Linked DNA regions of Homo sapiens: regions 1, 2, 3 and 4 are each linked to region 5. The links are contacts of gene promoters, found by promoter capture Hi-C in human tissues and cell types (Jung and others, 2019). All regions are on one chromosome and are shown on one strand. The core of a region is centred on a gene start or on the middle of the fragment in contact, and the rest is flanking DNA. Distances in the headings are between cores, read along the strand shown.

Region 1 (4,104 bases), core at 536-3,035, 160 kb before region 5:
ATTTTTTAGTTGAGACGGGGTTTCACCATGTTGGCCAGGATGGTCTTGATCTCCTGACCTCGTGATCTGGCCACCTTGGCCTCCCAAAGTGCTGGGATGACAGGTTTGGCCACCGTGCCCGGCCGGCAGTCAGTTTTTACATGGTTCATCACAGATTTTAAATTAAGATTCCCCAGCAGGATAAAAGAAATGCCAGTTGTATTTTATTTTTCGTATTTGTATTTTTAGCAATTTTTTTTTTTTGTATAGAATGAGCCAAGGGCATCTAGAGCAAAGAGGTAGTTCCCTGCCCCGTCTCCATCTCCCTGTCTGCACTGTCTCTCCCAGAGGTGTTTGCTGGTGCCTTCTTTGCAGTTCCCTGTGCTGTGTCATGCCCGTTTGCTGACCCAGCCCCTGCTGTGTCTTCCCCATCCCAGTGTGACTGTCGCTCTTGGTAGTTCCTCCGTGTTTCCTTTGTTTCCTTAGGTGACTTGTCTTTGCCCCACTCCCTGCAGTCCGCAGCACCTGTTGTCTCCTTCCCTCTCCTCCCGCTTCTCCTCAGACGTCATCTGTTCTTTCTAGAGTTGTTCCCCTTGCCCCAGGGTCCAGGGTTCCTAACAGCCTGTTTTTTTTCTTTCTTTTTTTTTTTTTAGTGAGACAGAGTCTCGCTCTGTTGCCCAGGCTGGAGTGCAGTGGTGCGGTCTCAGCTCACTGCAGCCTCTGCCTCCTGGGTTCAAGTGATTCTCCCGCCTCAGTCTTCTGAGTAGCTGGGACTATAGGCGTGCACTACCATACCTGGCTGATTTTTGTATTTTTATTTTTTATTTATTGTTGAGACAGGGTCTCTTTGTTGCCCAAGCTGGAGTGCAGTGGTGCCATCTTGGCTCACTGCAACCTCCACCTCCTGGGTTCAAGTGATTCTCCTGCCTCAGCCTCCCAAGTAGCTTACAGTAGGGATTGCGGGCACCTACGACCACGCCCAGCTAATTTTGTATTTTTAGTACAGATAGGGTTTCACCATGTTGACCACCTGGTCTCAAACTCCTGACCTCAGGGGATCCGCCCACCTTGGCCTCCCAAAGTGCTGGGATTGCAGGCGTGAGCCACCGCGCCAGGCCCTAACAGCCACCTTCTTAGCATCTGTATATTCAGACCGTCCATTGCAGGATGTGTGATCTTTGTGGCCTGGAATGTCTCTCTCTGAGCACTCCATCCTCCCACCCCTCAGGCAGTGTCTCTTGAGGCCACCTGCCCAGCCACCATCTTGGGGGGACCACAGGAGGCTGGGGAGAGAGCGAGGCAGTAGTGAGAAGCCGGGACGCTCACCGTTGGCCGAGTACCTTAGAGCAGCCCTGACGCCTGCTTCTGTCTCTTGGTGAAAGTGGCGCCCAGACTTCAGTCCTTACAGCCCAGAACTCAGAACCGTGGAGGTGCTGTGACCCACAGGGTTTACCTTGTAATTGTTGTTAAAACCCTTCTGGGCTTCATAATGGAATGCTTATGTTGAAATATTATTTTAAGTACTATTATCTATGATGTGGTTAGAAATGCCAAAGAATTTTTAGCTTTTTTGAGACGGAGTCTTGCTCTGTTGCCCAGGCTGGAGTGTAGTGGCGCGATCTCCGCTCACTGCAAGCTCCCCCTCCTGGGTTCACGCGATTCTCCCGCCTCAGTCTTCCGAGTCGCTGGGACTACAGGCGCCTACCACCATACCTGGCTAATTTTTTTTGGTATTTTTTGTAGAGACGGGGTTTCACGACGTTACCCAGGATGGTCTCGATCTCCTGACCTCGTGATCCACCCGCCTCGGCCTCCCAAAGTGCTGGGATTACAGGCATGAACCACCGTGCCCGGCCTTTTTTTTTTTTTTTGGTAGATGGAGTCTCGCTCTGTCGCCCAGGCTGGAGTGTGGTGGCGTGATCTTGGCTCACTGCAGCCTCCACCTCCCTAGTTCAAACGATTCTTCTGCTTCAGCCTGCTGAGTAGCTGGGATTACAGGCACCTGCCACCACGCCCTGCTAATTTCTGTATTTTTAGCAGAGATGGGGTTTCACTGTGTTGCCCAGGCTGGTCTCAAACTCCTGACCTCAGGTGATCTGCCCTCCTCGGCCTACCAAAATGTTGGGATTACAGGTGTGAACCACCACGCCCGGCCAGAGTGTGTAGCTTTTGTAAAAGTTTTGGAAATGGCCTCAGATAATTTCAGAGGTTTTTAAATAAAGAACGCTCAAAATGGAGCAAAATGGAGAGCCCCTGATAGGCCTCCTGCGTGGAGGTTTGCAGTAAGCCAGAGGCACCTGTGGGTCCCAGGGAGAGACGGGCTGCTCCATGGATGCTCCTGGGACCTGGGGCACTGGGTGGGCCTCAGGCAGATAGGAGCTGGTCCGTATCTCTTGCCAAGCCCAGGCCAACTCCTGATGAAGCAGATTCCTGTGGGTGACAAGTGTCAGAAGATAGAATAGGACCTTAGGGTCAGGAAGGATTTCTTGAACAAAAAAGGGGAAAAACAGATTGAGAGATTCAGAAAGCTGTAATATATTCTGTGACCTCAAAGGTGACTTGGAGGAGGGCTGTTGTTCAGCGACGGGCGTGTAGTGAACACTGGGGCATTTAAACGGTTCAGATGCTGAATTTAATGTTATATGTTTTTTACTACAATTGGTAAAAAAAAAAAAAAAAGCTTGTGCTCATCAAAAGACACACCATAATAAGTAAAAAAAGAACTGTGAACTGGAAGATACTTGTAACATTTTTAACCAGTGAAGGGTCGGTGTCCTGGATATGTCCACTGGGCACCACAGACAGAACGGCCTTGAAGGTAGGCTGGAGACGCCTACCCTTATCAGGCCAGGCAAGCACTGGGGAGCCTGGCCGTACCAGTCATTGTTGAGGCTGCAGGAATGGCAGGGAGCCCTAAGTTCCAGTGGCCACTGGTGCAGTCCTCAGAGAGCAGTTGGCACACCGCCTCAGGCTGAGCCTGCCCATTCTTGGGCACCCAGAAGTTCCACTCTTAGGTATACACCAGAAGAATTCTTCCTCGACTGTTTGTGCTGAAGGACAAGGTTTAAGTTTTTAAAATTTCCAGTGTCACAGACTGATGATATTTTTGTAAACTACAACAAAAGTGACTAGCTAGTAAAGGAAATCACAGAACATAAAATACAAACCCATGTCATTATTATTAATATTTTGAGGCAGAGTCTCGCTTTGTCACTCAGACTGGAGGGCAGTGGTGCGATCTCGGCTCACTGCAACCTCTGCCTCCTGGGTTCAAGCGATTTTCCTGCCTCAGCCTCCCAAGTAGCTGGGATTACAGGCGTGCACCACCATGCCTGGCTAATTATGCCTGGCTAATTTTTGTATTTTTAGTAGAGATGGGGTTTTGCCGTGTTGGTCAGGCTGGTCTCAAACTCCTGGCCTCAAGCAATCTGCATTCCTCAGCCTCCAAAAGTGCTAGGATTCCGGGCATGAGCCATCATGCCTGGTTATCGGGGGAACCCGCCCCCAATATTTCAATGTAGGTTCTTTCTATTTTCCATAAGTGTCGGCCAGCTGAGAAATAAAGAGAAAGAGTACAAAGAGAGGAATTTTACAGCTGGGCCCCCCGGGTGACATCACATATCGGTAGGGCCGCGATGCCCGCCTGAGCCACAAAACAAGCAAGTTTTATTAAGGATTTCAGAAGGGGAGGGGGTGCAAGAACAGGGAGTAGGTCACAAGATCACATGCTTCAAAGGGCAAAAAGGAGAACAAAGATCACAAGGCAAAGGGCAAAAGTGGAACTCCTGATAAGGGTCTGTGTTCAGCGGTGCATGTATTGTCTTGATAAACATCTTAAACAACAGAAAACAGGGTTCCAGAGCAGAGAACCAGTCTGACCAAAAATTTACCAGGGTGGGGTTTCCCAATCCTAGTAAGCCTGAGGGTACTGCAGGAGACCAGGGCGTATTTCAGTCCTTATCTCAACCACATAAGACAGGCACTCCCAGAGCAGCCTTCTGTAGACCTCCCCCCAGGAATGCATTCCTTTCCCAGAGTATTAATTCTTGCTAGGAAAAGAATTTAGTGATATCTTCCCTACTTGCACGTCCGCTTATAGGCTCTCTGCAAGAAGAAAAATATGGC
Region 2 (4,349 bases), core at 1,677-4,176, 160 kb after region 5:
TCCAGGTCTAGGCCGTGTGGTACCCAGAAGTGTCCCAGCCCACCACACCGTTTACCTCCCTCGCCCTGCCCCGCACCGTGGGGATGCCCAACTCACAGTGACTTCCCGTTTGGGGCCCGGTGTGGCCGCGGGCGGGTTTATCCAAAGGGATGGCTGGAAATTGGCCGCTCCCACGAGGCTCCCTCCAGGCTTGGGGCCGTGGTGGCCCTATCTGTGTGCATAGGGGCACTGAAGAATTACAAAGTGATTTATTTTTGTTTTCTGAAAGAAATCTGAAGAGCAGCTCAAAGTCTCCAGTGGAAGCTCATGGACAAGGTTCTCAGGGAAGTTTTGGAGTTTGCAACCACAGTATTCCTTTGTCTGTCGAGGCTGGGAGGGTAGCCGTGAGCGTGGTGGGTGGGTGGTGTGAGTGGCATCTTGGCCTGGAGGACACGCCTGGGGCAGCGTGTCTGTGCTCAGTGAGGGCCGATGAAGAAAGTGCGTTTTCTGTTTTCATTTAATTCAGTTTTGTGTTAAGGGTGGAACAAAGCTCTGTTCTAGAGGGAAAGTTAGGAATAGGCCTCCCAGAGGATACTCCAGACAGTTGACAAGCATCGCAGCCCCTGTCAGGTCAAGGAATTTTAACCTGGGAGACTCCTGAAAATCAGCCTAATGTCTGGGGGCAGCTGGCGCTGAGGCTGTGCAGATGTGTATGGCCTTGGGTCACAGCTCCCTACTGGGGCTGCAGCCTTTAGACCCTGGGTCTGGGATCCACGTCTAGGGACCACTCTGGCTTCTGTGCATCCACCCAGGCCCCCGACCCATCACTGCCACATTCTCCGGGTCATGGCCGAGCTTGACCTCTGCATCCATGGTGACGGAGGTGGCAATGACATCATCAAGGTCAGAGGGTAAATTCCTAACAGGAGACCACAAAGGTTTCACTTCTTTTAGATCCATCCAATATGCGAAAAAAGGGTACATTTTAATTTAATGTGTTAAAAACACAATGTCCCTACCGTGTAAATAGAATCCAAGTCAATTGTGACTGCAATTCCAAGTTAGTATTTAAAAATAGAGAAATTGCACTTCCTGGAAAAAATTAAAAAGTAGTTAGTTTAATTATTCTGTAAATTATTTAATTTTGTCAAGATGTAAGTATTTATATTCACAGCCTCTTATGTTAACGTTTGCTATTTATTTAACATTTTTATTTATTAATTTTATACTATTTCAACTAGACCCCACACCAGGGCACCCTAAGAGGGGAAAAAAGTGAATTCAAAGCAAAAATAACTATTTGACTATAATATAGGCCACAAAAAATCTTGATATAACTCCTAGTTATAATTTTGATGCAACCAAGTTATTTTTTATATATTTTGTTATTTATTCTTTTAATAATGGAATTTTTTTAAAAAGTATTTTGTAACTGAGGAATTTTGATAATTTGGGGATTTTGTTTTCCCTTGGTCTAATGGAGAGAAAGACATTTTGGTTTTCTTTTTCCATTTTGGGTTCCTTTTGTTTCAGGCACGGATAACAGCAAATGGAATTCTGTATTTATTATTATTTAAGTGTAGCGCAGATGTGTGTGCTTGGGCGTGTTTCTCGTGTCGCGTTTGCGTGTCGGCTCTTGCGGTGGAGTCCTGTTGCTGTGAGGGAGTGCTGGCCGCAGGCAGCCTCGAGTCACCGCCAGGCTCACAGGCTGTGCCACCCGTCCCTCCGACAGCTCCAATACTGTGACCCTCCTTCCTCAGGAAGCGCGTTGAACCCACAGCACTCCGTGGTGTGTTTGCAGGGTGATTTCCTAATAAAAGTCCACTCTGACTGTGAATCGGTGCTGTGGTCTGTGGGGAGGACATTGTCTCCATTCTTGGTGAGCTCTATCATGCACCCTCCTGGGAGCACATGCCCAGGAGGGGAATCTTCCATCTCTGGTCTCCCCTTGATACCACACGTGGGTCCCCTCTGGTGTCAGCTTAGCCAGTATCTCCTTTTGAAACTACCCTACCTCACCGCCTCCACGTGTGTTTCTAGAAGGTGTAAATCATTGTATCTTGCCCCTTCCCACATGACCAGTCATATGCAAATTGAAGTTTTTCCCAGGAGTCTTCTCTTAGGGTCAGGGAGAATAACTTTTCCTGCTGAGGTTGTTAGACTTGGGGGTGTGGAACTGGGGTTGCCCTGGGCTATCTCTCCTGGCCACAGGATGAAGCCATCAGTAGTAGGAGAGAGTTCAGACATTCTGGAGGGGGGCAAAGCTGACAATGGAGGTAGATGTGAAGGAAAAGGGAGCTCTCTGATGATCTTTTTAGAGCTCATGGACCCAGCCATGTCTGAAGGCACTCCACCCTTGAACTGCCCAGTTATATAAGGCAATGGTTTATTTTTTTTTTTAAGCTGGTATACAAGGCCAAAAAGCCAATGCATACCAGCTTTAAAAAAAAAAAGAGACTTCTCCCCTTTTTCATTTTCGTACTTTTGTGTCAGGTGGAGCTCTAGTGCTCCTAGAGTAAGACCTGGACTTGGGACTTCTAGTCACATTCAGCCTAAACTGTCAACATGCTTTTGACCTCCCTGGAATCTGGCCCTGGTGGTAGTCCTGGAGCGTCCATCTGATATGCAAACAAAGGATCCATCTTCACTGACAAATTCTTAGAAATTCTGGACTGAGTTTCCACCCTCTGCTGTAGTCAGACAGGGTCCACAACACCTGTGGAGGACATTTGATCTGCCTTCAAGGCTCCAACTGCTGGTTGTGGGGGCCCAAGCAGGTGCCAGTGCCCACTGGTGGGTTATGCAGAACATGTTCAACTGTGAGGAAGGGTTCCTGGGGGTCCCCTTTGGTGAGGCCCCATTTGTGATGGGGAGACCAGTGGCCTGGAGTTGTACCCCTTCACGTCAGCACAGCAGATGCTGGGGTGGGTGTGAGCAAGACCGATTCTGAAGTGTCCCCTCAGCAAGCTGAGGTAAAGTCATTCTGGGGGGTATGAGAGTTGGCTGGAGAGGTGGGGACTATGATGTTCCTGCTAGGGGACACAGGCTGTTACCATGATGTTAGAAAGCTGCACAATCCCATAGTTTGATAATGGCACGAGCTGGTCACCCCCAAGAAGATTCTCTCACTTTTCGCTTAGAGGCACTGGCTGGGCCACCAGCCTACTGGGAGCTGAGAGAAAGAGCGTCTAAAGTCACAGGCATGTGCTCTCTTAGGATTTATTTTTGGTATGGGACCCCACAGCTAGGCCTTCTCTACCAGCCTGCAGACCCTCCTGTTTACTGTATCCAGAGGATAAAGCTCAAGGTTTCATCCAGAGGGAGGGGAGTGTTTGCCAGGCTCTCAGAGTCGGGGTGGAGTTCTGGGGAAGGGGGCTACTGGCTCCCGAAACACTTTCTACCAGTTGTCTTCTCCCATCTCCAACAGAATCTGGTGCTACCAGTTATTGGGGGTTCTGAGGTATGGACGGTGTTGGCTCTGAACTTTCTACACTCTGGCTAGAATTCAGTGTTTTGTGTCTCCTAGGCCATTTATTTTGCATCTGTGAATTTTCTGGCTTCTAAATTGCATTGTTGTCCCCTCTTTCATCTCCTCACTCCTGCCAATGTATGCCTTAAAATCTGTCATTTTAGGCAGGTGTAAGAGAGAACAAAGGTAAATACACATGTGCACCTGCTTTCCTTACCTGAATGGGTATGCTTCCAGTTGATGAGCACACGACTGTCTCCCTGAACAGACGGGAAGTCAGCTTAGTGCTGGGTCGACATCACCCCATGAGTAAGGGAAGCCTCAAGTTCAGGTGAGATTTTTCCTATTAACCACTCTGTCTCCCTGAAGCCAGTAGCCTCTCAGAGGCTGCTAAAGACATGGATGTGGAGGGTTTCCTAACTGTCAGCTGATTGTGAATCCTGCAACACAGGCCATCCATGCTCCCAGGGGTTATAGCATCTGTGCCATTCCCTCTGTCCTTCTTAAAATATGGAGGTGGAGTGTGGACTTCTCTAATGGAGTCTTAAGTCTTCACAAGGGCACCCTTATCCATGATCGTGGGTGGCCTGGGCTGGTGCCAGGCAGCTGACCTTTGGCAGAGCTATGCTCTGAGCCACTCTGGCCCTCACTGCACCCCAACCCTACCATCCCTCCTGGCTGCTCCCATTGTCTCTGCCTCTCTTTCTTTCCTCTCAGTGTCTGCAGCATGCAGGTCTCCGTGTGTGCTGACTTTTCTAAAGCCTGGCCTCTCCTCTTCCAGCACCTGCTATGGCTGCCTCCTCCTCTCCCTCTACTGTATCTTCCTCCCACCTGCTTATGTGCTCCTGGCCTCTCCTCCTTCCTGATTTCCACCCTACCCTGCAGCTGCCTCAGGGCTGTC
Region 3 (4,256 bases), core at 609-3,108, 180 kb after region 5:
CTTTTCTCTTTTTTTTTTTTTTTTTTTTGAGACAGAGTCTTGCTCTGTTCCGCAAGCTGGAGTGCAGTGGTACGAGCTCTGATCACTGCAACCTCTGCCTCCCGGGTTCAAGTGATTCTTCTCCCTCAGCCTCGCCAGTAGCTGGGATTACAGGCATCCACCAGCATGCCTGGCTAATTTTTGTATTTTTTAGTAGAGACGGGGTTTCACCATGTTGGCCAGGCTGTTCTTGAACTCCTGACCTCAGGTGATCCAACTGCCTCGGCCTCCCAAAGTGCTGGGATTACAGTCATGACCCACCGCACCCGGCCTAAATTTGAATTTCAAATAAACGTCAAATAACTTTTAGTATTGTTGTTTACCTTAATTTCCAATTGAACTGGGATTTTTTTTCCTTCTAAATCTGGCATCTCTGGGTGGGGCAGGGGATGAGGTGGGTGTTGACAAAAGATAATCTATTATTTTCAGAATTCAGAATTTCAAATTGGTATCTGTTTAGAACTTCTATTGTTCTGCTCTTACCTTTAACATAAATCGCTCTTTTTAAACATTTTTAATTATAGTATTGCCTAAGTGTAATCTTGAACATGGGCGGTGCTGTGAGTGCTGGTGAAGACAATGATGAGCTGATAGATAATTTGAAAGAAGCACAGTATATCCGGACTGAGCTGGTAGAGCAGGCTTTCAGAGCTATCGATCGTGCAGACTATTATCTTGAAGAATTTAAAGAAAATGCTTATAAAGACTTGGCATGGAAGCATGGAAACATTCACCTCTCAGCCCCGTGCATCTACTCGGAGGTGATGGAAGCCCTAGATCTGCAGCCTGGACTCTCGTTTCTGAACCTGGGCAGTGGCACTGGGTATCTCAGCTCCATGGTGGGCCTCATTCTAGGTAAGTGTGGAAGGAGAGTCTGAAAACTCATCTGTCTCAGGGAAGGAGGCATCTCCTTTGACAGAAAATGTAGTCTGCTAATGGCCTGCCTGGGTCGAGACCGCAGCCTTCCCAGTAGTTATCTGACATTGACACATCACTGGGTGGTGGATAGAGGGATGAGGGAGGAAGGCCTGCATGCATCTCATGGGCCCCGGATTCTCCAGAGGGACCTCTCCTGTTCTCTGTCCCCTCTTCCTGTGCTGCCACAGCCTGTACTGCGCACCTGCCCTCTGGACAGCGGAGGATAAAGACAGTTGTGTAAATCTTGACCCCACTGTGATTTCTCGATTTAATTTTATCACTCATTCTTCCTTGTCACTCCTTCTCTAAATCGATGGTAATTAACTTGAAAGTCCTTTCGGAGTACTTCTAAGCAGTTTTTGTTTTGTTGGTTTTTTTTTTTTTTTTTTTTTGACAGTTGTGCCCCATCGTCTAGGCTGGAGTGCCGTGACACGAGCAAGGCCCACTGTAGCCTTGACCTCCTGGGATCCAGCAAATCCTCCTGAGTACCTAGGGCCACAGGCACGCACCACCACCCCTGGCTGATGTTTAAATGATTTTTAGAGACGGGGTCTCGCCATGTTTCCCAGGCTGGTCTCAAACTCCTGGGCGCCAGCTCTCCACCTGCCTCAGCCTCCCAAAGTGCTGGGATTACAGGCATGAGCCACCATGCCTGGCCTACTTTTTTGTTTTAATACTAAGAGTAATACCTGTAGATTTTAAAATTAGTTTCAGGGATGGAAGGGATTTCACTATGAAGCTATTTAGCCTATTTTCCAAACAAATGAGTTGTGAGACTGCACATGGAAATATGGCTATTTTTAATAATAGCAGATAACTAAGGAAAAACATCACTTGGTGCCAAATGCTGTGAGGGGCGGGGAAGGCATCTGTTTTTAACTCAGTAGGGTGGAAAAGTTTTGCCGGAGGGGTGATAGGAGCTGATCTGTAAACAGGAAGCAGGGGCCAGGCTGCTGAGGCAAAGCTGGCTGAGAAGACGCTGGATGAAACCAGTGCAGAGAAGCTGGAGTCTGTATTTTTTCTAAATCCTGTTAGAACTGACAGGATTTACGGGTGGACTGTATATGCTTGTGAAAGAAACGTCAGGAATGTGGCTTGGCTTGGTGGTTCATGCCTGTAATCCCAGCCCTTTGGGAAGCCGAGGTCGGAGGATCGCTTGATCGCTTCAAGATTGCAGTGAGCTATGATTGCACCACTGCACTCCAGCCTAGGTGACAGTGAGACTCCGTCTATAATTGATTTTTGTGGATATGGAATGATAATTTTGTTTTTTTTTTCTAAGTCTGTATAAATTGGAATTTGGTGAAGTTTTGAGACCGATTATTTTGGCTTTATGCTATAGATTGCTACCTTCAGGTGTAAAAGTGTGTAGATTTTTATAATGCTTTTTGACCGTAACTTCTCTTCAATTGAGACTGTTGTGATCCCTGTGCTTTGAGAAGAGAACACAGTGCCCAGATTATTTATCATTTTTGAATTTGGGAATTGTGATTTCCTCCAACGTAGCTGAAAAATAGGGGCTATAGCTAAGGTAGAACCTTGGGGAGAAATAGGTGATCAAGCTGACTAGATTAGAAATACTATAGGAAAGAGCCAAAATGCTTAGGAAAAGATGACTTAAAGTAAGCCTGAAATGGTGGGGCGTGGTGGCTCACGCCTGTAATCTCAGCACTTTGGGAGGCCGAGGCAGGCAGATGGCTTGAGGTCTGGAGTTCAAGACCAACCTGGCCAACGTGGTGAAACCCTGTCCCTACCAAAAGTATAAGAAAGTACCTGGGTGTGGTGGTGCACACCTATAATCCCAGCTACTCAGGAGGCTGAGGCTGGAGAATCACTTGAACCTGGGAGGCGAAGGTTACAGTGAGCAGAGATGGTGCCACTGCACTCCAGTCTGGCTAACGGAGCCAGACTCCATCTCAAAAAGAAAAAAAAAAAGTAAGCCTGAAATGGCCTTGCTGTACTTGACATCCCCTAGAAGTTATAAGGAAAGGCCTTCCAACTTGATACAGTTGCTTTTCTTTCCTGAATCCCCTGTTTACTGGAAATTTCATTGGATTTTGGGAGGAGAGAGGTCTGAAGGAAGGAAAGGCCTGTTTTCTGCTGTAATGGATGTAACATGCTGCTTTGATGCAGTTGAAGGAAGTGACTTCAGGGTTTGCTGTCATGGATGCGTGTCTTGGCTGTGTCTCCAGATGCTGCAGCTTTTATTCAAGCTTAATAGCACTTGGTGCAGAGCACTCCAGAGTGAAACCTCATTGGCTTCCCGGCGCCTGTGGATGTGGGTCTCTCATCTGACGGAGTTCTTTACTGTGACCCCCGACTGCCTTTCGCATGGCCTGAGCGGCATCCTGGGTCAGCCCTGTTCCTGTGCTTGCTCTGTGGGCTCCTCTCCCCTTTGCTCAGGGCTGTCCTTACCTTTGTTTGTCATCAACCAGGGGAGAATACAGTAGCTACTAAGAGATGGTGGCTCATAAGTCACCTACCTGAAAAGTGCTGGGTGATTCGGAAGCAGGGCAGACCTAGGAGCGGCTCTGCCAGGGGGGCCTCGCTGCTCTGGTTTCATGCCGTGCTCCAGTGCTGAGTCCCAGGTGCCGTGTTCCTGACACCCCCCGGCCACCCTGTGTCCTCCTCCCCTGCTAGTCATCTTTGTATTAAGCAGGTGGGTCGAGGTATTTGTGTTACTACTGTTTGGTGTTAAGCTTCTTGGGAATAGGAACCATATCTCATATCTGTTACTAGAATTAACTGCTTATTAAGTGTTTGATAGTGAAGGTGAGGGGTCAGTGAAAATAAGATGAGTGGGAAGAATCAAGCGCTATTTTTGGTCTCTGGCAGAGTCGGGAATTGAAGTCGGAGTTGTCAGAAGGTCTTGACGTTCAGAGTAATTCAGGATTTGATGTTGTAAACAGTGAAAAGGGGAACTCTCAGGTAGGGTGTATTTTGACGAGGTAATGTTTTAGCAGCAGCTCTGTGTATGAAATACGTGGAGAGAAAAGAGCAGCAGGTACAGTTGTCCAAATGGGGGCCAGGGAAGCCTTGGCCTGGGCTGGTGGCTGTTGTACTAGGAGGGCCCACACGGTGCAAAGGTGTGGGATGCACAGAAGGTTGCCCATTTCTTAGCATTTCTGTTAGATTGTAGGGTCCAGTGCTACATGATCACTGTAGTAGTATATCTGTCTACCAAGTAAAGTCCTACGTGCCTTGTGATTTTTACATGTAGATTTAAAAAGTTGACGTGTAACTTACCCATAGTAAATGAACAAGTGTGAAGTGTGAATTCTGGTGGACTTTTACATATG
Region 4 (4,128 bases), core at 1,355-3,854, 140 kb after region 5:
ATTCTCATTCTTAACTTTTTCTCCCTCCTGGCCATGGCCCCAAGGACCGCAGAGCTTGGATGGGTCCACCAGGAGAACCTGGTGTGCTGAGTGAAGGGGGACCAAGGGCTGCGAACACAAGTTCCCACGTGTTAGGTTGTGTGCACACCATGCGCCCGCGTGTCTCCCTCTGAGCCTGAGGGTGGTGCACACACATGCCCATGTGTTTCCTTCTGACTCCAGGGCGGTGCACGTGCCCTGTTCACACGTGTTTCCCGCAGTCTTGTGGTTGCTGACACACTCTCCTTGCTCAGAGGACCTAGTCTTACCCGTGTTTATGACATGTCCTGAGGGACTGGTTTTTGTGCTGTTGGGAGGCAAGAGGAATTGTAGGGCCCCCTTCATGGGAAATCAGGAAATGGCAGCTGGATTTTTTCCCTCTCGCTGCCTGTCTGTCCCCGTTGTCCTGCTTCCTTCTATGGGAACCAGTGTTCTGGACTCTGTACGTTTGATTCAAATGGACCAGAAGGCACACATGGGAAGGGATGGAATCGCTAACAGATCTCACCTTTGCCATTGCAGTCTGTGGATATCGAGGTAGACGAAAATGGAACCCTGGACTTGAGCATGCACAAACACCGCAAACGAGAAAATGCTTTCCCCAGCAGCAGCAGCTGCAGCAGCAGCCCCGGTGTGAAGTCTCCCGACGCCTCCCAGCGCCACAGCAGCACCAGCGCCCCCAGCAGCTCCATGACCTCTCCCCAGTCCAGCCAGGCCTCCCGCCAGGACGAGTGGGACCGGCCCCTGGACTACACCAAGCCTAGCCGCCTGAGAGAGGAGGAACCTGAGGAGGTGGGTGCAGGCGCCTGGGCAAGCAGTCAGGCGGCTGCAGCCAGCTTGCCCTGCCTGAGGCTGTTGTGATATTGGCTTTTCAAGGAAGCTTCTCCTCACAGGCTTCTGGAAGAGCCTCGGGGAGCCATCCCTTTTCGTGAAGGGTCCTTCATCTTCTGAGCAGCTGGGACTCAGGGGCTCACCCTCTGGGTGGGATTTTCAGCAGCAGGGTCATGCTGTGCCCTTGTCTGTCAAGAAGGAGGTGGTCTTCTCACCCCTGTGGAGCATGGTGGCCAGCACCAACGTGGGCACTGTGGAGGCATGGGGAGGAGAAAGGCATCGTTCAGATCCCAGGAGTTGATTGGGGAAAAGCTCAGGTTTCTTGGGTTTTGAGCCTCCCACCACCCTGCAGAGCTAACCTGCTGTCCGGGTAGGGGCAGAGCCAGTGAGAGAGCTTAGGACCTGGGCTTAGGATCGCCCATGGTGGGCAGTTCTACGTCCCCGAGACCAGGACCAACCTGGCATGGGTGCTGGAACTGTGGTCTGGGAAGCAGGGGATCCTTCCCTTTTTAGTTCCTTAAAACATGTGAAAGAAGAATCCTCCGAGGCCACAGCCGGTTCTGGGCTTTTTCCCAAGGAGGTGTGTGTCCTGAAGAGCAAAGTCCAGCTGTGAGGGCAGCCCAGGGTCCAGGCGGCAGCAGCCGCGTGTGTGAGACTAGCAGGCCCCTCTCCCTCTCCTTCCCCTCCCCCAAAGCCCCTCAGGAGGTGGAAGGGGTCCCTGTGGAAGGAGCAGGGCCAGACCCTCAAGGAGGAATGAGGGGGGTGGGGCTAGGCCCCTATGAAGGGTGGGGGCTGGATCAGGCCCCTATGAAGGGTAGGGGCTGGATCAGGCCCCTATGAAGGGTGGGGGCTGGATCAGGCCCCTATGAAGGGTGGGGGCTGGATCAGGCCCCTATGAAGGGTGGGGGCTGGATCAGGCCCCCTCCACAATCCGGCCTCAGTGGGAGGCAGACTTCCTTACCGGCCCTCACACCACCCTCAGGTCACCCCATTTCATAGACGAGCAGCCTGGGAACCCACAACGAGGTCCAATTATCCGAAGACTGTTATTATGCTGGGCTGTGGGCTTCACGGGCATTTCCTCATTTGACCCCCAAAAACCTTTGAGGGGCTGCTGTTATCTCAAGTTGGACAGAGTGGCACCTGGGCCCCAAGAGCCTGAGCCACTTGCCTGGGACACATGCGAGTGCCTGTCAGGACAGGATTTTGAGCTCTGGTTACAGCATCCTGCAGAATGTTGGCCTTCTGACCCTTCCTGGACCCCTGGCCCCTCCGTGGGAGGGACTACGCCCTGCTTATCTGTGTCCACAGCTCTGAGCCTCCATACCCAGCATTCAGTTCGAAGCCTTTATCAAGCACCTGCTGTGGTCAAGGCATCGCACTGGTGGGCGTGTCGGGCCAGGTGGTTTCGAGGTTACTGCGATTGTTGTAATTTGTATGTTATTACCCTCGTTGTGCCATCTCATCTTCATGGCATTTCGGTAACACTTATTTAGTGCCTACTGTCTATTGAGTGCCATCCCTGGCTCTGAAGGGAACTGTATCCTGATGTTTACGCTGCGGAGTGATGTGGCGGAGGGAGGCCAGGGAGGGTGTCAGGAGCCTGCCACACTGGGCAGCACCAGGCCTCATTTCTAGGGCAACGCAGGACCTCTGGCTGAAGCAGGGGAGGGATCCAGCCCCTCAGGGGTGTTGTCTTCTGTGTTTTGCTGGGGGGAGTTAAGTCTTCCTCCCTTATCCAGAAGATAGGAGACTCCGGGAGATGCTTCTGTGGACACTGTCCTGAAGGGTCCCTCTCCCTCGCCCACTGGGTTGGGCGCCCAGGCCTCCCCGCCAGCCGGTTAAAACATCTTCCTGCTGGTTTTTTGCAGTCAGAGCCAGCAGCCCATTCTTTTGCTTCTTCTGAAGCAGATGACCAGGAAGTGTCGGAAGAGAATTTTGAGGAGCGGAAGTATCCGGGGGAAGTCACCCTGACCAACTTTAAGCTGAAGTTTCTCTCCAAGGACATAAAGAAGGAGCTGCTCACGTAAGTCCCTGTTTGGCTGGCACAGCTCCTAGGGGACCCTCTGTGGCCTGGGGAGGAACAGGCCCTGGTCCCAACCCATGACGACCGGGTCTGCTCAGGCTTTCCCCGACCTGTCCTGACCACCTCGAGCCAGGCAGCCTGTGACAGGAGCCAGGGTATTCAGAGGTTTCCCAACACCTTTGTGTTGTGCTGGGCTTTACTGCAATCTTCTAAAAGTGATTAAGAACAAAGAAATCCCCTGGCCAAGCTCACCAAGCAGGACAGAGCAGGGCAGGGGCAGAGTGGAGGAGAGCTCCTCAGAGAGCTCTGCAGGAAGCCCTCGGGGCACCCAGAGGCCTGGCCCTCTCCCTGAGGCCGCAGCTGGGCACGTTCTGCCCTGGGCTCCATGGCCAAGGCCTGGAATGTACTGCCTTAGGGCTCACCACCCTCAACTCTGTCAGCCTGGCTGGCCCAGAGGCTGCGTGTCTGAGCTGGTCCGCATGGGGTTGGAACAGACAGAGTTGCTGATGGATATGAATCAGATGTCAATGACCTTCTGGTCAGCCTTCATTGCCAGCCACCTGTCCTAGGGGACTGTGAGAGGCTGTGCCTGGCACCTGCTCCACAGGTGATCCAGCTCTCACATGTGCTCAGAGTACATTTCTGGGGTCCCTCTTCTCCCCAACCTGAACCCCTCTTGTACCCTCACACTTGTAGCTTGCCCTCCTGGGAGTGGCTGGATCCAGGGAAGGCCTTGCTTCAGGGCCTGGAGAAGGGAAGGAGCTCCTCTGCCTAAATATTCGTGGGCACATACACGTGCACACACAGCACATGTGCGTCAGAGGCATCCTAACTTTAAGCTCAACTTTAATTTGGTTACTTTTTCTTCTTGAGTTAAGTTGTGTGGGAGAAACTTCCAGCCTGAGAGGCACCGGCTGTCCTCCAAGGACTGAGTGGAGGAGGGGCCACCGCTTGGCTCGCGGGTGAGCCAGGAGTGGGCACCAGTCTCCCTCGCAGAGCAGGCTCAGCCTGGGGGGCAGGTACACACCACTCTCCGGTCTGACACTCTTTTTCCTTTGTCCAGCTGTCCCACCCCTGGCTGTGACGGCAGCGGCCACATCACCGGGAACTACGCCTCCCACCGCAGGTTTGTCTCCTGCTCGGGTCCGTCTGGCCTGGGTGCTTCGTGGTGGGTCTTCCTCCTCTCCTCCTCCTCTGCTCTCCCTCTTTGGCTTACCCCAATATCCCATCTC
Region 5 (4,013 bases), core at 770-3,269:
CTGAGGGTGTGGGAAGGGGGGCAGGGCCCCGGTGAGGAGGGACATGCCCCCCAAACATGGTTCTTTGGTCCTGCTACCTCCCACCCAAGACTTCCCTCCCTCCTTGCCCACTGCCTCTAGGCTGTGAAACTGCTGTGGAACCAAGGCCCTACCACAGGGTGCGCCAGCCAGGGAAGTGGGGGTGGCAGGGGTGGGGGGCACCCTGCTCCCCAGTCGAAGCCTCGGAGTCCCTGAGGGGGGTGTGGTGTGGTGCATGTCCCTCCCAGCATTTGGTTGCACCGTCTGCAGGGGAGGTGCACCAGGAGCGCCAAAGCTGTGAGTGGCCCTCATGCCACCTAAGATGCCACTTCGAATCCCAAGTCTCCTTGGGCGATGGTACAGGGGGGCCAATCAGTGCCCCGGAGGCAGTTGTGAACACCTGCGCCCACTTCTGCCCAGGGCAGGGAGGGGCCTCCGTGCACATCCGCCACCCTCCTCATGTGCCGCCACCCTCCCTGGCCAGGAAGCTCACAACTTGATTCTACTTTATTTTCTCAATCTTCATCCCCCCGCCACGCCTCCCCTAGCTCGTGGCCTTTGAATGCTTGTTTCTGGCTGGTTGGCTTCTCTTGGCCTCCTGGGACGGTGTGTGAATGGCCCTCAGAAGAGACAGTGCTGGAGTTCTGCACTCTTAGGGCCCCCAATACCCCCGAGGCCTGGGCATGCAGAGGCCACTGCCCTGGCCCAAGTCTGGGGCAGGTGCAGCATCCCCTGGGACCTTGGCCCCTCACCACCGGCCCAGTTTCCTCTGAGACTGGGGGTCCCACGGGCTCCTAGCAAGTAGATGAGGAGACCGAAAGTAGCCCTGCAGCTGGGCTTTCTTTCAGGGGTCAAGTTTCTAGGGAAAGGAAGGGGCGTGGCAACCTGAGGTTTGGTAGCTGTACCCAGACGGGGCTGTCTGTGGCTTCCCCAGGCAGCAGTTCTTCCTCCTCTCTGTCCCCACCCAGGGTCCTCCCCCACACTCTAGCACCCCTGAGACTGTCCCCCTGGGCTACCATCTCCACCCCAGCTCTGAACTGGAGGAGGGGACGTGTTTAGGGGTGCAGGGCCGGGGTGCTAGGGGCTGCATTTGCTGCAGAGCAGGGAGCCAGCCCCTTCTTTCCCAGTTGCAGGCCCTGGACCTGGTCACCTGTCCCTGGACCTGGCTTCCTGTACCCTTCTCAGGTCAACTGGGGCAACCCATGTCCCCAGGCTACCCTCCCCCCGTCTCTCCTGGGGGATACAGAGTCTCAACTAGGGTCCTCCTGCTTGTCAACCTGGCATTGGGGACCCCCTTCCCCAGCCTCCCAGGCTTTGGCCCCCAAGTCTGGGATGGGATAGGCTGGATAGGCGGCACGTCTGCTCTCTGGGGATAGAGGATCCCTTGGGAGTGGCTGCCGCTTTGCTCCACAGAAGGAAAAAGAACGTCCCAGAGCCTGCCCAGTCCAAAAAAAGAATAAGAAAATGTGACAATCCCAGAAAAAAATGTCATAACCTTTGGGAGGGGGGTTGAAGAGGGGCTCCATTCTCAGTCCTTAGCTCCTACCCAGGGCCTTTCCCATCTGCCACCCTCCACATCTGGCTGGTGGGCGAGCCCTGGCCTGGCCCCTCCAGGGAAGGCCAGCTCTCCCCACCTCTGAAATGGTGGTGGTGGCCCACCCACCACGCTCCTCTCTCTGCTGTTAGGGTCCAGTCTGGAGAAGCCTGTGTTCTCCTCCAGGTGCCTCTTTCTTCAGCCTCTGACGCCCCCACCCCTACCTCAAAGCTCCCTACTCACCAGCGACCCAAAGGCGGGGTGGGGGCAGGAGGGGCCAGGTTGGGTCTGGGCCCCACCCTGGCTGCCGAAGGGGCGTGCACTGCAGCAGCAGGGACTCAAGTCAGACGGCAGGAGGGACTCCTGCGGCGCTCTGGAGGGAGGCTAGCGCCAGGAGCCCCCGATCGGCTGGGGCCGGGGGCGCAGCGCCTCCCCTACAGCTCGAAGGGCTGAGTGGCTGCCAGATCCAGCGGGGTGGGGGCGGGGGCGGACAGGGTGTCCCGCCCCGGCCCCTCCTCACCGGGCTGAGAGGGGGAGGGAGACGCGGAAACCTGGGTTCTTCCGGCCCCCACCTTTGAGCAATCACTTCCCCAGGCTTTGAGCTCCAGAAAAAGGGGAACCCGGCTGCGGCGCCCCCTCCCCCACGCGCGGGGGGCGGGCTCCACTTCCACTGCGGCCCAGGGTCCACGTGGACCTGGCGGCGGGAGCCCTTGGGGTTCGAGTCCCGTGCGCCGGCTCCCGAAGCTCCCGCCCAGCACGGTCCCCGGGCCCGGGCCGGGAGGGGCAGGGCCGCTGTCCCCGGCGCTGCGCGCGCGCACTCACCAGCCGCGCTCCCGAGCCACTCGCGCCGCCGCCGGCCCGCGCGCTCCAAGGTCCGGCCCGACAGTCGGGGAGGGGGCGCGGGGGCGCAGTGCGCAGGCGCCTCGGCGGCACTTCCCCAAAGCCAGGGGCCGGGACTTCCTCGCGCCGGCGGTCGCCGGGCCCGCCCCGCCCGCCGCGCCCCGCCCCGCGCTCGGCCGGCTCCGCACCCCACCCGCCCCGCCCGCGCGTCGGCCCCCACAGTCGCCTGGGGGTGGCCCGGAGAGTCGAGGTGCTCATAGTGGAGCCCTGGCTCCCGGGCGGACGGAGCCGCACGGTAGTAGATGGGGGTGTGGCCGTGGCCCCCGACTCTGCTCGGCGGGGCCGTTCCTGCTTTGCCATCCGTGTGGGACTTCCACGACAGTGGAGGCACGAGAGCTGGGCCCCATATGCTGCTTGCCCAGCTTGGGAAAGAGGAGGCTGCTGCAAAGGACCGATCGGCGGGTACGCCAGCCCGGCCCACCCCTCGCCTCCGTGAGCCGCGTCTGTAAAACTGGGTTAAGAGCCGCCTGTCTGTGCTGTGGGGGGTTCCCAAGGAAGGGGGAGATTCCTGTGCTGCGGGGCTGGGGAGAACTGGGGGTGCGGGTTCTTGCATCCGGAGTCATGCCGAATGTCTCCTGTGGGGCCTGGCAGAGTCCCTGCTGACCCGTGTGTCCCAAGATGTCCTAAAGCTTAAGGCCACACTGTCCCCTTTGCCACGAACGCCCTGTCCCTTTGGCCGACTCTTCTCATCCTTTATGACTCGGTACAGACGTGGGTTAGGCTTCTCATCGCAGCATGCTTTGGCCCTGTGTCAGGGTGGCCCTGACCCTGCTCTGGAAGTGTCTGCAGAGCATCTGTGCCCCCCGCCCCTCCCCTGGCCCGGCTGTGTGCAGCTCCTGTCCTCCCCAGCACAAGCACTCCACCCGGATAGTTCCCAGTGTCGGGATCTGTTCATAAAATGCCTTCCAGTTGCACAGGTCAGGTGCACACCTTACACCTTCACAGAACTCTGAGGGGTGCAAAGGCAGCTGGAGATTCTACTTGTATTCCTCATTCAACGGACAAGTATCAGTATCTGGGTGCCCCTGTGGGCCAGGCAGTAGGACCAGAAGCCAGCAACATAGATCAGCCTGGATCTTATGCTGGGGGGCGCAGAGTGAGTTGTGGGGAGCAGGCAGGGAAGGCCTGGGTGAGAGGGGGGAGGGCTGAGGAGGGGAGGGTATTGCGCTGCTGAGCGGGGGCGGGGGCCCGAAGGGGGAGGTCAGAGGTCAGAGGGCCCTGGAGGACAGACAGGCTGCCTCTCGAAGCTGTACCCAGAACCCTGTGACTGCCATGTTGTCAGGCCAGGCAAGGAAAGGCAGGGGCCAGGAAGCCCACAGGGACAAGAGGCAGGCTGCTACTTATTCAGCCCACATAACACTCCTGAGCGGTGGGCACAGGTGAGGTCAGGGAAGCTCAACGAAGATGGGCCAGCACCTGGCCCAGGCCACACACAACCAGGCTGACCCCGCTGAGCCGGCCTGTTGTCTCTGCTGTGGGAAAATGCAGCTGTGGGCAGCTGGCAGGGGGTGAAGGTCAGTGCCCTCCCTGCCCCCTCGGGTCACTCTACAACCCCCCAGTC

Evidence for each region. Contacts are between HindIII fragments. The study calls those that stand out against the background at their distance.
Region 1: a contact is called between a fragment that was not itself captured here and the fragment with the promoter of RGS19 in region 5, in 2 of the 25 tissues and cell types used here (bladder and lymphoblastoid cells).
Region 2: a contact is called between a fragment that was not itself captured here and the fragment with the promoter of RGS19 in region 5, in 1 of the 25 tissues and cell types used here (lymphoblastoid cells).
Region 3: a fragment that was not itself captured here is called in contact with the fragment with the promoter of RGS19 in region 5 in 2 of the 25 tissues and cell types used here (dorsolateral prefrontal cortex and mesendoderm cells).
Region 4: a contact is called between a fragment that was not itself captured here and the fragment with the promoter of RGS19 in region 5, in 2 of the 25 tissues and cell types used here (IMR-90 fibroblasts and lymphoblastoid cells).

What each region holds. Positions count from the first base shown.
Region 1 is chr20:63,912,782-63,916,885 of GRCh38, forward strand. All of the region lies in intron 1 of DNAJC5 (DnaJ heat shock protein family (Hsp40) member C5), which reads left to right. Among named protein-coding and RNA genes, the nearest start is that of MIR941-1, 4.6 kb to the right of the region's middle. The HindIII fragment of the contact is 7,543 bases long and covers 1-4,104 here.
Region 2 is chr20:64,240,438-64,244,786 of GRCh38, forward strand. It overlaps MYT1 (myelin transcription factor 1), which reads left to right. Exons shown (of 23, transcript NM_004535.3): 23 at 1-1,816. The coding sequence ends at 11. Among named protein-coding and RNA genes, the nearest start is that of PCMTD2, 13 kb to the right of the region's middle. RefSeq lists an enhancer at 4,124-4,349. The HindIII fragment of the contact is 9,977 bases long and covers 1-4,349 here.
Region 3 is chr20:64,259,379-64,263,634 of GRCh38, forward strand. It overlaps PCMTD2 (protein-L-isoaspartate (D-aspartate) O-methyltransferase domain containing 2), which reads left to right. Exons shown (of 6, transcript NM_018257.3): 2 at 564-894. The coding sequence starts at 588. Among named protein-coding and RNA genes, the nearest start is that of PCMTD2, 5.8 kb to the left of the region's middle. The HindIII fragment of the contact is 3,110 bases long and covers 304-3,413 here.
Region 4 is chr20:64,219,152-64,223,279 of GRCh38, forward strand. It overlaps MYT1 (myelin transcription factor 1), which reads left to right. Exons shown (of 23, transcript NM_004535.3): 13 at 562-831; 14 at 2,742-2,896; 15 at 3,960-4,022. Among named protein-coding and RNA genes, the nearest start is that of PCMTD2, 35 kb to the right of the region's middle. The HindIII fragment of the contact is 5,217 bases long and covers 1-4,128 here.
Region 5 is chr20:64,077,499-64,081,511 of GRCh38, forward strand. It overlaps RGS19 (regulator of G protein signaling 19), which reads right to left and starts at 2,020. Exons shown (of 6, transcript NM_005873.3): 1 at 1,796-2,020. OPRL1 (opioid related nociceptin receptor 1) reads left to right here and starts at 2,584. Exons shown (of 5, transcript NM_182647.4): 1 at 2,584-2,854. RefSeq lists silencers at 1,922-2,601, 2,995-3,168. The HindIII fragment of the contact is 4,418 bases long and covers 1,344-4,013 here.